Regions from separate parts of the Homo sapiens genome. Here all the other regions are linked to region 1. The links are contacts of gene promoters, found by promoter capture Hi-C in blood cells and fetal thymus (Javierre and others, 2016). All regions are on one chromosome and are shown on one strand. Each heading gives the region's core, a stretch centred on a gene start or on the middle of the fragment in contact. The rest is flanking DNA. Distances are from core to core; before and after follow the strand shown. Region 1 holds the start of RBFOX2 (RNA binding fox-1 homolog 2). Region 2 overlaps RBFOX2 (RNA binding fox-1 homolog 2). Region 3 holds the start of APOL1 (apolipoprotein L1).

Evidence for each region. Contacts are between HindIII fragments. The CHiCAGO score rates a contact against its expected background, and 5 or more counts as called.
Region 2: a contact is called between a fragment that was not itself captured here and the fragment with the promoter of RBFOX2 in region 1, in 1 of 17 cell types (endothelial precursors). The highest score is 5.2, in endothelial precursors.
Region 3: a contact is called between the fragment with the promoter of APOL1 here and the fragment with the promoter of RBFOX2 in region 1, in 2 of 17 cell types (non-activated CD4 T cells and total CD4 T cells). The highest score is 5.6, in non-activated CD4 T cells.

Annotation. Positions count from the first base shown.
Region 1 is chr22:36,027,345-36,030,664 of GRCh38, reverse strand. It overlaps RBFOX2 (RNA binding fox-1 homolog 2), which reads left to right and starts at 1,841. Exons shown (of 14, transcript NM_001349999.2): 1 at 1,841-2,425. The coding sequence starts at 2,240. RefSeq lists a silencer at 1,606-1,675. The HindIII fragment of the contact is 7,441 bases long and covers 1-3,320 here.
Region 2 is chr22:35,835,065-35,838,242 of GRCh38, reverse strand. The region is part of intron 2 of RBFOX2 (RNA binding fox-1 homolog 2); the gene reads left to right. Among named protein-coding and RNA genes, the nearest start is that of APOL5, 120 kb to the right of the region's middle. The HindIII fragment of the contact is 1,815 bases long and covers 806-2,620 here.
Region 3 is chr22:36,251,737-36,254,931 of GRCh38, reverse strand. It overlaps APOL1 (apolipoprotein L1), which reads right to left and starts at 1,799. Exons shown (of 6, transcript NM_003661.4): 1 at 1,713-1,799. RefSeq lists an enhancer at 1,687-1,746. The HindIII fragment of the contact is 9,856 bases long and covers 1-3,195 here.

The DNA of each region.
Region 1 (3,320 bases), core at 592-3,091:
GTGGGCAGGAGGTGGGAAGCCTGCGTTCTCATCTGGGTTGGTCTGACTCTGAAGCAGGGATCTTTACTGTTGTACTGTTCCAGCCCCAGCCAGGTTAAACCCAGGTTCAAAGGCCAAATCACACACTGGTTGGAAATGACCTTGGAAATCATCTAACCCAGCGTTTCTCAACCTCCGCACTATTGACATTTGGGGTTGGATAACTCTCCTGGGGGGACCGTCCTGTGCATGATAGGATGTCAAGCAACATTCCTGGCTTCTACACACTAGATGCCAGCAGCACCTCCCCACTGTAACAATCAAAAATGCCTTCAGTCGGCCAGGCGCGGCAGCTAACTCCTGTAATCTCAGCACTTTGGGAGGCCGAGGCAGGCGGATCACCTGAAGTCAGGAGTTCGAGACCAGCCTGGCCAACATGGTGAAACCCCATCTCTACTAAAAATACAAAAATTAGTTGGTGGCGCACACCTGTAGTCCCAGCTACTGGGGAGGCTGAGGCAGGAGAATCGCTTGAACCCAGGAGGCAGAGGTTGCAGTCAGCCGAGATCGCGCCACTGCACTTAAGCCTGGGCGACAGAGCGAGACTCTGTCTCAAAAAAAAAAAAAAAAAAAAAAAAAAAAATGCCTTCAGTCACTGACAAATGTGGGAGTGGAGGTGGTGGAATGGCAAAATTTCTCCTTGGTTGAAAGCCACTGATCCAAACCATCTCATTTTACAAATGATGGAGCTGAGGTCCAAAGAGATGAAGTAACTTGTTTAAGCTAGTTAGCAAAGCCAAGATTAGAATCCAGGTTATTCACGCAATATCCTTTTATTTCTATAACGTACAGGGCACGATATGGAACTCAGAGGAAGTCACTGCAGTCCTTGTCCTCACAGTCTGGTAGGGGAGAGAATCTATTGCACAGATATCTCTATCTCCACGAAGTTGGTAAGTCATAAAGTGCTCCTCAGGCAGCAAGGTACGAAGAAAGAGAATATGTTCTCGTGTTCTGAATTCCGGATCTGCCACTTTTTTGCTGCAGGATTTAACTAAGGTTCAGTTTCATCATCAATGAAATGGAGATCATGGTATCTACTTATATCACCAGTTTGAAACGGGTCTGTGGATGCATTGTGCAAACTCTAAAGCTCTTACAAACATCGGGTATTATTACTAACTTCATTAGGAATGTGAGTTATATTAGAGTAAAAGCTCTCAGAACTGGGGTGAACCATAGAGGGGTGGCTTCATTCCTCGACCTTCCAATTTGAGACATTTTTTCTTCTGCGGGAGGGGAAGCAGGCAAATAGCCTGCCTCTCACAGAGTGCCCATTCCCTCTCCGGGAACCAAGGTGCTCAGGCGAGTAAACTCAGGACTTAACTCTGTACAACTAGTACCGCAAGCAGGAGCCACTCCCTGGCCTTCGGGTCTCTCAAGCCCCGCCTGCTCCAGGATACGGCCCCGCCCAGAAAGGAGACAGACCCCGCCCCCCCCGCGCTGCCCCGCACTCCAGCCGCGCTGTGCCTCCAGGACAATCCCAGGCCCGTGCCGGAGATTCCCGAGCTTCCCCGATCGCTTCCCGGCCTCCCTCGGGCAGCCAGCGAGGAGACTACGGAGATTGCCGAGGGGGCCTGGCCCCGCCCCCCCCGCGGGCCGCCACCGCCCCCCTCGCCGTAGCCTCCCGCGCGGGCTGGAGTTCTACATCCCGGTCCCTCCCTCCCTCCCTCTTTCTCTCTCCCCGCCTTCCCGGTGCTGCCACAGTGGCGGGTCGGAGGATCCCGGCCAGTCAGCTCGTTCCTGCCTCGCGCCCCTCCTCCCCCCAAAATAAACAGCCCTCCCCACGCCTCGGGAGCCCGGACCGCCCCCTTCCTCCCTCGGCCGGCGTGCTGTGAGGGAGAGTGTGAGCCAGCGCGGCCGGTGGGCGAGCTCCGGGAGTGCGAGAGGCGGGGCGGCGCGGCGGGCCGGGCCGGGTTTCGCGTGTGCGTGCGGGGGCGCGAGCGAGTGCTCATCACGACCCGCCAGTGGCCCCGCGCCGACAACCCGGCGGGCGGGCGGGCGGGGAGCAAGCGGTCAGGCAAGGAGCGGCGGCCGCGAGGCGCGGAGGGGCGCGGAGTCCGCTCGCGCGCACGCACGCACGCACGCGGGGGCGGGGGCAGGCGCGCGCCCGCCTGTCGCGACAGTCGGGGCCGAGGCCCAGGGGGAGGTGGCCTGTCGCGGGTCGCCCGGCTCCCGGAGGCGAGGGGGGCGCGGGCGGATGGCGGAGGGCGCCCAGCCGCATCAGCCGCCTCAGCTCGGGCCCGGCGCCGCCGCCCGGGGCATGAAGCGGGAGTCGGAGCTGGAGCTGCCGGTGCCCGGAGCGGGAGGAGACGGAGCCGATCCCGGCCTGAGCAAGCGGCCGCGCACTGAGGAGGCGGCGGCCGACGGTGGCGGCGGGATGCAGGTGACCGCGCGGGACGGGGCGCCCAGTTATTGCGGGGGTGGGCGTGAGGGTCGACACCGGGCTCCCCGGCTTGGAGAGAGGGAGGGCCTCCGGGAGTCCTGGGTTGGAGGTGGGATGGGGGGCCATTCGGGGCCTGGTTGGAAGGTGGGGCGAGCTCGGGCTAGGAACGAAGGTTGCAGGACTGAACCTGGTGTGCCCGAGAGGGTCCTGATTCCTGAGGGGCCAGGAGGCACGACGAGTGGATAGGTTTTGGGGGGAAATCGAACAAGGTTGAGATGGATTCCATTTTTTCAAATCCTTCCTTAGTGCCTTGGGGTGGAGTGGAAGCCGGGAAATCCTGGCTTCTCTGGACTGAGTCGAGGAAAAGGAGATCTGGTGGGAAACCTCCCGAGAAGAGGGAGTACCTTTTGGCAGCCCTGGGCACACGCTGGGATGGGGAAGAGAAGTGGCATTTCAATGAGAGGAGTGAAAAGAAAACTCCTCGAGAGAGCCCCGAGGGGATGTGGCTGAGATTGTGGGTTAAATCACACAGAGTGTGAGAAGTACAAGGAGTTTGGTAATGTTATGGGGACACGGTGGTGCTCAGTCTCATTTACTTTGTGGAGCATACTAATGAGTCTGAAGGGAGACACTAGACATGTCCCTCCTGTTCTTTGCCAATTGCATTCTACATCACCAGGACACAAAATAGCTCTTTAATGTCCCGGGCTATAAAAAAAATTTTTTTATAGGGCTATTAGAAGACTGGATTCTCAATTCTGGATTGAAAGATAAACGTGGTTAATTTGGGTAGGGAATGGGAAAGGTATTGATGTCAGCTGACTTCATAGTTTTGAAGAAGACCTTGAAACCTTTGGAGGTTTTACGATTTGGTCTTTGCCCAGAAAATACTGCT
Region 2 (3,178 bases), core at 464-2,963, 190 kb after region 1:
TTTAAAAAAAATTTACATAAAAGATAAATCCTGTTTCTGGATTCTCTTTTTGCTTGGGAGATGATACTTGCTTAACCTTAGAGCCCTCATTCAATTTTTATTAACTGGCAATATTAGAGGGTAACAGCTCTCTTCTTGCTTAGCAATTACTGAAGGCTTTTCAATGACTTGACTTTTCATTATTTATTTTTTAAACTAGTGAAAGAATGATCTAAAATGGAAATTTTTATGATGAGTTTTCTATTGCCTCTTGGAACATTTCCCCTTAGTTTCTAGAGGAGCTGGTAAGTGTAGTGTGTGTGACCATTAAGTTAGAGTGCACATGCTTATGCACACTTAATATTGTGGTCGTAATAATTAGTATTTAAAGAAGCCATAAGTTTAGGAATGAAGTAGAAGAAATAAATGGAAACTGGAAAGAGAGATTCTGGGGTGCTTAATAATTCTAATAATAAAATCACCTGTTTTATCAGGATGTGCTAAATATTGAAGAAAAGTTATGAGTTTTTGCCCATCCTGAAATTATACAACTGGCAAGGATAGAATATCAAATTTGTGAATTTTCAGTATTCCAGCGTATTTGTTTTGTTGTATATACTTTCTGTGTTAATGTAATGTACATAGTTGTTAGTAATCTAGGGGGAAAACAATCAAAGGAAATAACCAGCTGGGCCAAGTCTTTCATTTGTCCTGTGGTTGTGTTGTGTTGTGCCTGCGTGTGTGTGTGTGTGTGCACATGTGTGTGTGTGTGTGTTTGAGCCAGACATCCAATCCCAACATTTGATAATGACCTGTCACATAAGCTTTCTCAATATAGAATGTCTATACTGGTGGTTAGGCCTGGGTTTTCAAAGTTAAACGGTTTATTACAATGTAAGAGCGATGTATGGATGTGTTTTCACTGTTTTGCTACTTAGGTTCTTTGCATCTTCAGATGATACCATCTCTGTAGTCCCCAGTTTCCATTGCTCAGCTGTTGGAAAAGGGCTTTCAGTGAATGACTTTTTCATCATACCATATTAGATCCTTGTCAGTATTTGCACAGTGTATGCGCTTTATTATTACATATGCTCTACTTTTATAGGGCCTGTTTTTGTTTTAATTATCAAACTACTCTGTCATTTATAGTAAGTAATCAGTGCTCTGCTAAAAAGCAAATGGCAATTTAATCACAAAATTCTAATATAGCCGATAGACATGCTTATGTGATACTTAAAACGTTAATTTTATCGGCTGTTCATGTGTATGTTGTAGGAGTATTTCACTGAGATCTCTTATTTTTTGGGCATATAGACCAGATTATTGCATCTCATATTTATGAAAATAGCAATATGGAATATGAAGGAAAGATAAATCATTCTTGTACTATGTGTAAAATTCGAAAAACAAAATTGCAAATGACTTCAACACTAATTAGTAAAAAATAAATGTTTAGCCAAACTCAAATTCAGTTATACTATCTATTGTTGAAAGGGAAAGTGTACTAGGCAGAGAGGAAAAGATTTTACAGTATGGATGTGAAAGAAAATTTTTGTACTCTACTATGGTATAAGACTGCCAGTTTCTGTGGAACACAAAGCCCTCCCTTTCTTGGACAGCTCAGTGCTTTGCTGGCATTTTCTTCAAAATCTGTTTTCCATCAGGACCAAGAGGAGGGAAGGTGTTAGGAATAAGGGAGGTTGGAAAGGGGGTTGCTGTTCCTTTAAATAGTGCAGTGAGTCCATGTGGCAGCAGGCCGCTCTGGAGTGTATTCTTTTGTAATGAATCACCAGTTCCATTGTCTGCTATCTCCCCTCTTTGTAGCTGGAAGGCTGAAGTCTTTCACCTGAGCTGCTGCCAGTTCGCTCTTCTGTTCCTGGGTGGTTGGGAGAAGAGAAGAGGGAGGGTATTTTATGCTTTAATTAAAGACAGATAAGAGAGCAGGTATGTTTTGCTTTGTTTCATTTTCTCTTTTCCTGTTTTTGTTTGTCTGGTTTTTGAAAGGAGTTGGAGTAGAGAATCTATTCTGTGATTTTGCTAAGCATATCCCATTTTCTTTGAATTCTGGAGGTCCTCTCAGCATTTAGTCTCCATTTTGTGGCACTGCTTTAAAGTGATTCCATTCGGTTGCCTGCCAGTCATGCTCCCTTGCCACTCGAACCTTATCCCACCCTTCATCCACGGAGCTGCAGCCACACTGTTTGTTTTGGCACACTTTCCACTTTCTATGGGCTTTGCAGGATTTGGGGAGTTGGAGGATAGGCGGGGATTGTGGGTTGGAGACTGAATTTATGTTCCTTTACAATGAAAAAAAAAAGCCTCACTTTTTCCAGAGATTTGGTTTCTTTCTGAATTCTTCTACATTGCTCCATATCTTCAGTTATAATCATTTCTTCGCTGAGGCCAAGATTGTCTCTTGAAAAGTATTGCTTTTCTAAAAATTACTTAGCTTTCTTGAAAAGATAAACAGAATTTCATAAATGAAGCTATGATGAAATCCGAGCAATCTTGACTCATTAAATTGTTTTTTCCGTCTTAGTCACCCCCTAATCACACACACTTTTCTCTTTCTTTTTTGGCCCCCTTCTCTATTTTTTCCTTTATCTTTCTCCTTAGCTTTGCAATTGAGTCTAGGTAAGCTTAATATTTGACAACCTATTACTTAAATTTGTATTGCTACAGGAGACATCTTCATATTGAACAGTAATGACATTCCTCATTCCTCTCAGTGATAAGGCATAAGCTCAAATTCCTGGTTTTGTTCCTCCAGTTTTCTGTTCTCCCCTGAGAAATTCCAAACTCTGATCTACACAGATTGCCATATGTAAACAATTTTATCTCTCTCAAATTTGAACTTTTCATCATGTAATTCCTTACCTAGGGGTTGTTTCTTGGACATCTGTTTATGGTAGACAGATAGTTTCTGGGAACCAGTCATACTAGGTGATACAGCCCCCCCTTACCCACCCTGGTCTCCTTCTGGTATACCATTCCTCTCCGGGATCTGACATTATTGGTATCCCACATGTTCCCTTCCGAAGTCATAATTCCTCACTCTTTTTTTTCAACATTTCCAAACCACTGTCAAATCTTTTTTGAACATTTCCTCCCAACATTTTGTATGTGAAATTTGCCAGGCACAAATACAAGGCTCCCCTGCAGTAAATACTTTGCTCTTTTGATTGTAGCACCTTTCTTA
Region 3 (3,195 bases), core at 550-3,049, 220 kb before region 1:
GCAGGAAAAGAGGGGTTGAGACAGTGTGCTCCTCCTGAGAAATCACCATTTTCATTTCATTTTTTTTTTGAAATGGAGTCTCGCTCTATCACCCAGGCTGGAGTGCAGTGGGGCGATCTAGGCTCGCTACAAGCTCTGCCTCCCGGGTTCACGCCATTCTCCTGCCTCAGCCTCCCGAGTAGCTGGGACTACAGGTGCCCGCCACGACACCCGGCTAATTTTTTTGTATTTTTAGTAGAGACAGGGTTTCACCATGTTAGCCAGGATGGTCTCGATATCCTGACCTCGTGACCACCTGTCTTGGCCTCCCAAAGTGCTGGGATTACAGGCGTGAGCCACCGCGCCCGGCCTTTCGTTTAGTTTTTAATAAACAGTTTTGCTCTGTCACCCAGGCTGCAGGGCTTTGACACCATCCTAGCTCATTGCAGCCTAGATCTGTTGGGCTCAAGTGATCCGCCTCCTTCAACCTTCTGAGTAGCTGGGACTACAGGTACACACTACCATGCTGGGCTAATTTGTTAATTTTTGATTTCATAGAGACAGCATCTCCTGTGTTTCCCAGGCTGTCTTGAACTCCTGGCCTCAAGTCATCCTCCCGCCTCTGCCTCCCACAGCACTGGGGTTACAGGCTTCATCATCTCTTTTTGGTGAAGAACAAATAAGACCATGACTCAGATTTCACAGAAATTACCCCCCTGATTTCATGGACTTTTGGCAGCTCTATCAGGTTTTTTACAGGGGAAAATACTCAGGCTGGGAGGGGAGGTGAATTTCCCAGAGTCACACAGCTCTTGGAGGGCAGAGGGGAGGCCAACATCTGCCCTTGTGACTCTAATATTGAAGCAAAAATGTTTGATTTTAATAATCCAAAAGTTTCCAGGTTTGATTCTCCTTCTATGAACACAGAGATCTAAGCTCTCACTCCTGTAGTTATACTCACAATTCCACAGTGTGGCTTTTGAATCTCATGATTGCAAAGCTGGCATCATGCCACAGGCACCATTCTGCAACGCACCCTTCTCACTCCCCTGTCTCAGCCACGTTTCCCATTAGGGACACAGCACAGCCTGTTTCTTCTCCATCACCCCAGAAGTCTGAACAGAGGGACAGAGGTGAGGGCCAGAGACGTGGAGTCCTATGATCTACCTGCTCAGCCTCCTGACACGGGACCCTGGGCAAGTCATTCCGCTCCCAGGGCCTCAGTTTCCCCACAGGGCCTGGCACAAGTTGGTGCTCAGACTCAGGGTGGGTGAGATGACCTCTGAACTCCTTGTACCTGAAAAAAAATTCTGTTGCCCCCATTGGGCCTCAGCAGCAGCACCCTGGGGCCAGCCTTGGTGTGGCCTGGCCATAAGAACAGGCTGGGATCTGGGTCACCTCCTCTCCTCCACCTTCTTTGGTTCCTTCAAATTTCCCAAAGAGATGGGCACCCCCAACACAAACCTTCCTTCTGGGTTCACTCAGTCGTGTCTCAGCAGTCAAAACCAGGGCTGAGCCCAGGGAGCTTTGTGAACCCATCTGAGCTGTTTCCCCAACCCTCTATAGTTTAAGAGCCCAGCAGGAGAGGGGAAGCAATCAGACTCAAGCCTGGGTGCAAATCCAGGCTTTGCCGCTACTTTCCTGTCTATCTGAACCAGTCACCTAACCTCTCCCAGCTTATCTACAAAAGCTGTGAGAATAAGATGGAGGCAGGTCAACTGTCCCCAACTTACCAAGGAATCTTCCCCTGGCAGAGACTGAGCAAGATCCAGCTGTTCTGAGCTGTGTGGATCCCACCTCCAGTTATGCGTCTGTATAATAACCAGACAGGTCCTCCAGTCCCCAAGATATACCGAGGAATTCGAAAGGGAAAGTGAAAGTCACAACTTCCCAGCAGCTCATGACCAAGCACAGCAAACACGCTCCCCTCCACCTTCAGTCCAGCCCCACCCTCCTTGCTGCTGCCCTTAGAGGAGCAGCCTGAGACCAGACATCCAGATCCCTCTCATCCAACCCACCTGCCTCGCATCCTCAGGGCTGGGGGTCTGCTGTGGTCTCAAGGAGAAAGACCTGCCACTGACATACTATGGGACCCTGCAGATTACTCCCCATCCTCCCGTGCATCCACATTCCCCTGATGCCTGCCTTACTCCTGCCCGTGCCATCGGCATAAGCACAGTCTCCCACACATGCCTTGTGGATGCTTATTGTATATTTATTGTAATGCCGTTGGGGTTATTTTGGTTATGTTTTTGAGACAGGGTCTCAGTCTGTCACCAAGACTGAATTGCAGTGCCACAGTCATCGCGCACAGCAGCTTCAAACCCCTGGGCTTAAGCCATCCCCCCACCTCAGCCTCCTGAGTAGCTGGTTCTACAGGTATCAGCCAACCACCCAGCTAATTTTTAAAAAAATTATATTAGAGATGGTGCCTCACTATATTGACTGGGCTACTCTTGAACTCCAGGCCTCAAGTGATCCTCCCACCTTGGCATGAGCCACCGCACCAGGCCTGCTCTTGTTGAAGGCCATGCCTTGTGGCTTCTAGATATTTGCTTATATGGGGTCTTCTGCCGGGAGCACCTGCTTCCACCGCCTGGAAAAATCATGCTCATCGTTCAGTGACAAAATCAGGCATTGCCTCCTTTCAGAGATCCCCCAGCATCCTCCCCAGCAGAGGCCACTGCCCCGTGTTCCACTCCCGAGGCACACAGGGTGGAGGGACTAGAGACCACTGCTCAGCCACACTTCCATGACTAGGAAGTCATGCAACCAGATTGCTATTGGACTTTTGTGCTTTGCCCCAGGCAGAAGGGCCTCAAAGGCAGCTAAACCACAGAAGCCAACCTGACCCTTCCATGGGGGCCTATTTCATCCTGAGCAAACATCTCTGGGGGCATCGTGTCCACCTCACCCCACCCATACACACACACACACCAGCTTATGAGGCAGGAAGAGAATGGTGATTACACAGGGACTGCACAATACACTTTGCAATACATTCCATTTGCAAATGCTTCTCCATTTGATTGAGTTTTATAATCATCCCCTCAATGGGCCAGGATTATGATCTGATTTTGCAGATGAGGAAACTGAGGCAAGAAGAGAGGACGTTGCTTTCATCCAGCAACTCAGGGAGGAGGCAAGACTTGTAAACCAAAGAGGGTCTGGGACACGTCTCAGTCAGTTTAGATGTTTACTCTGCCAAGGTTGAGG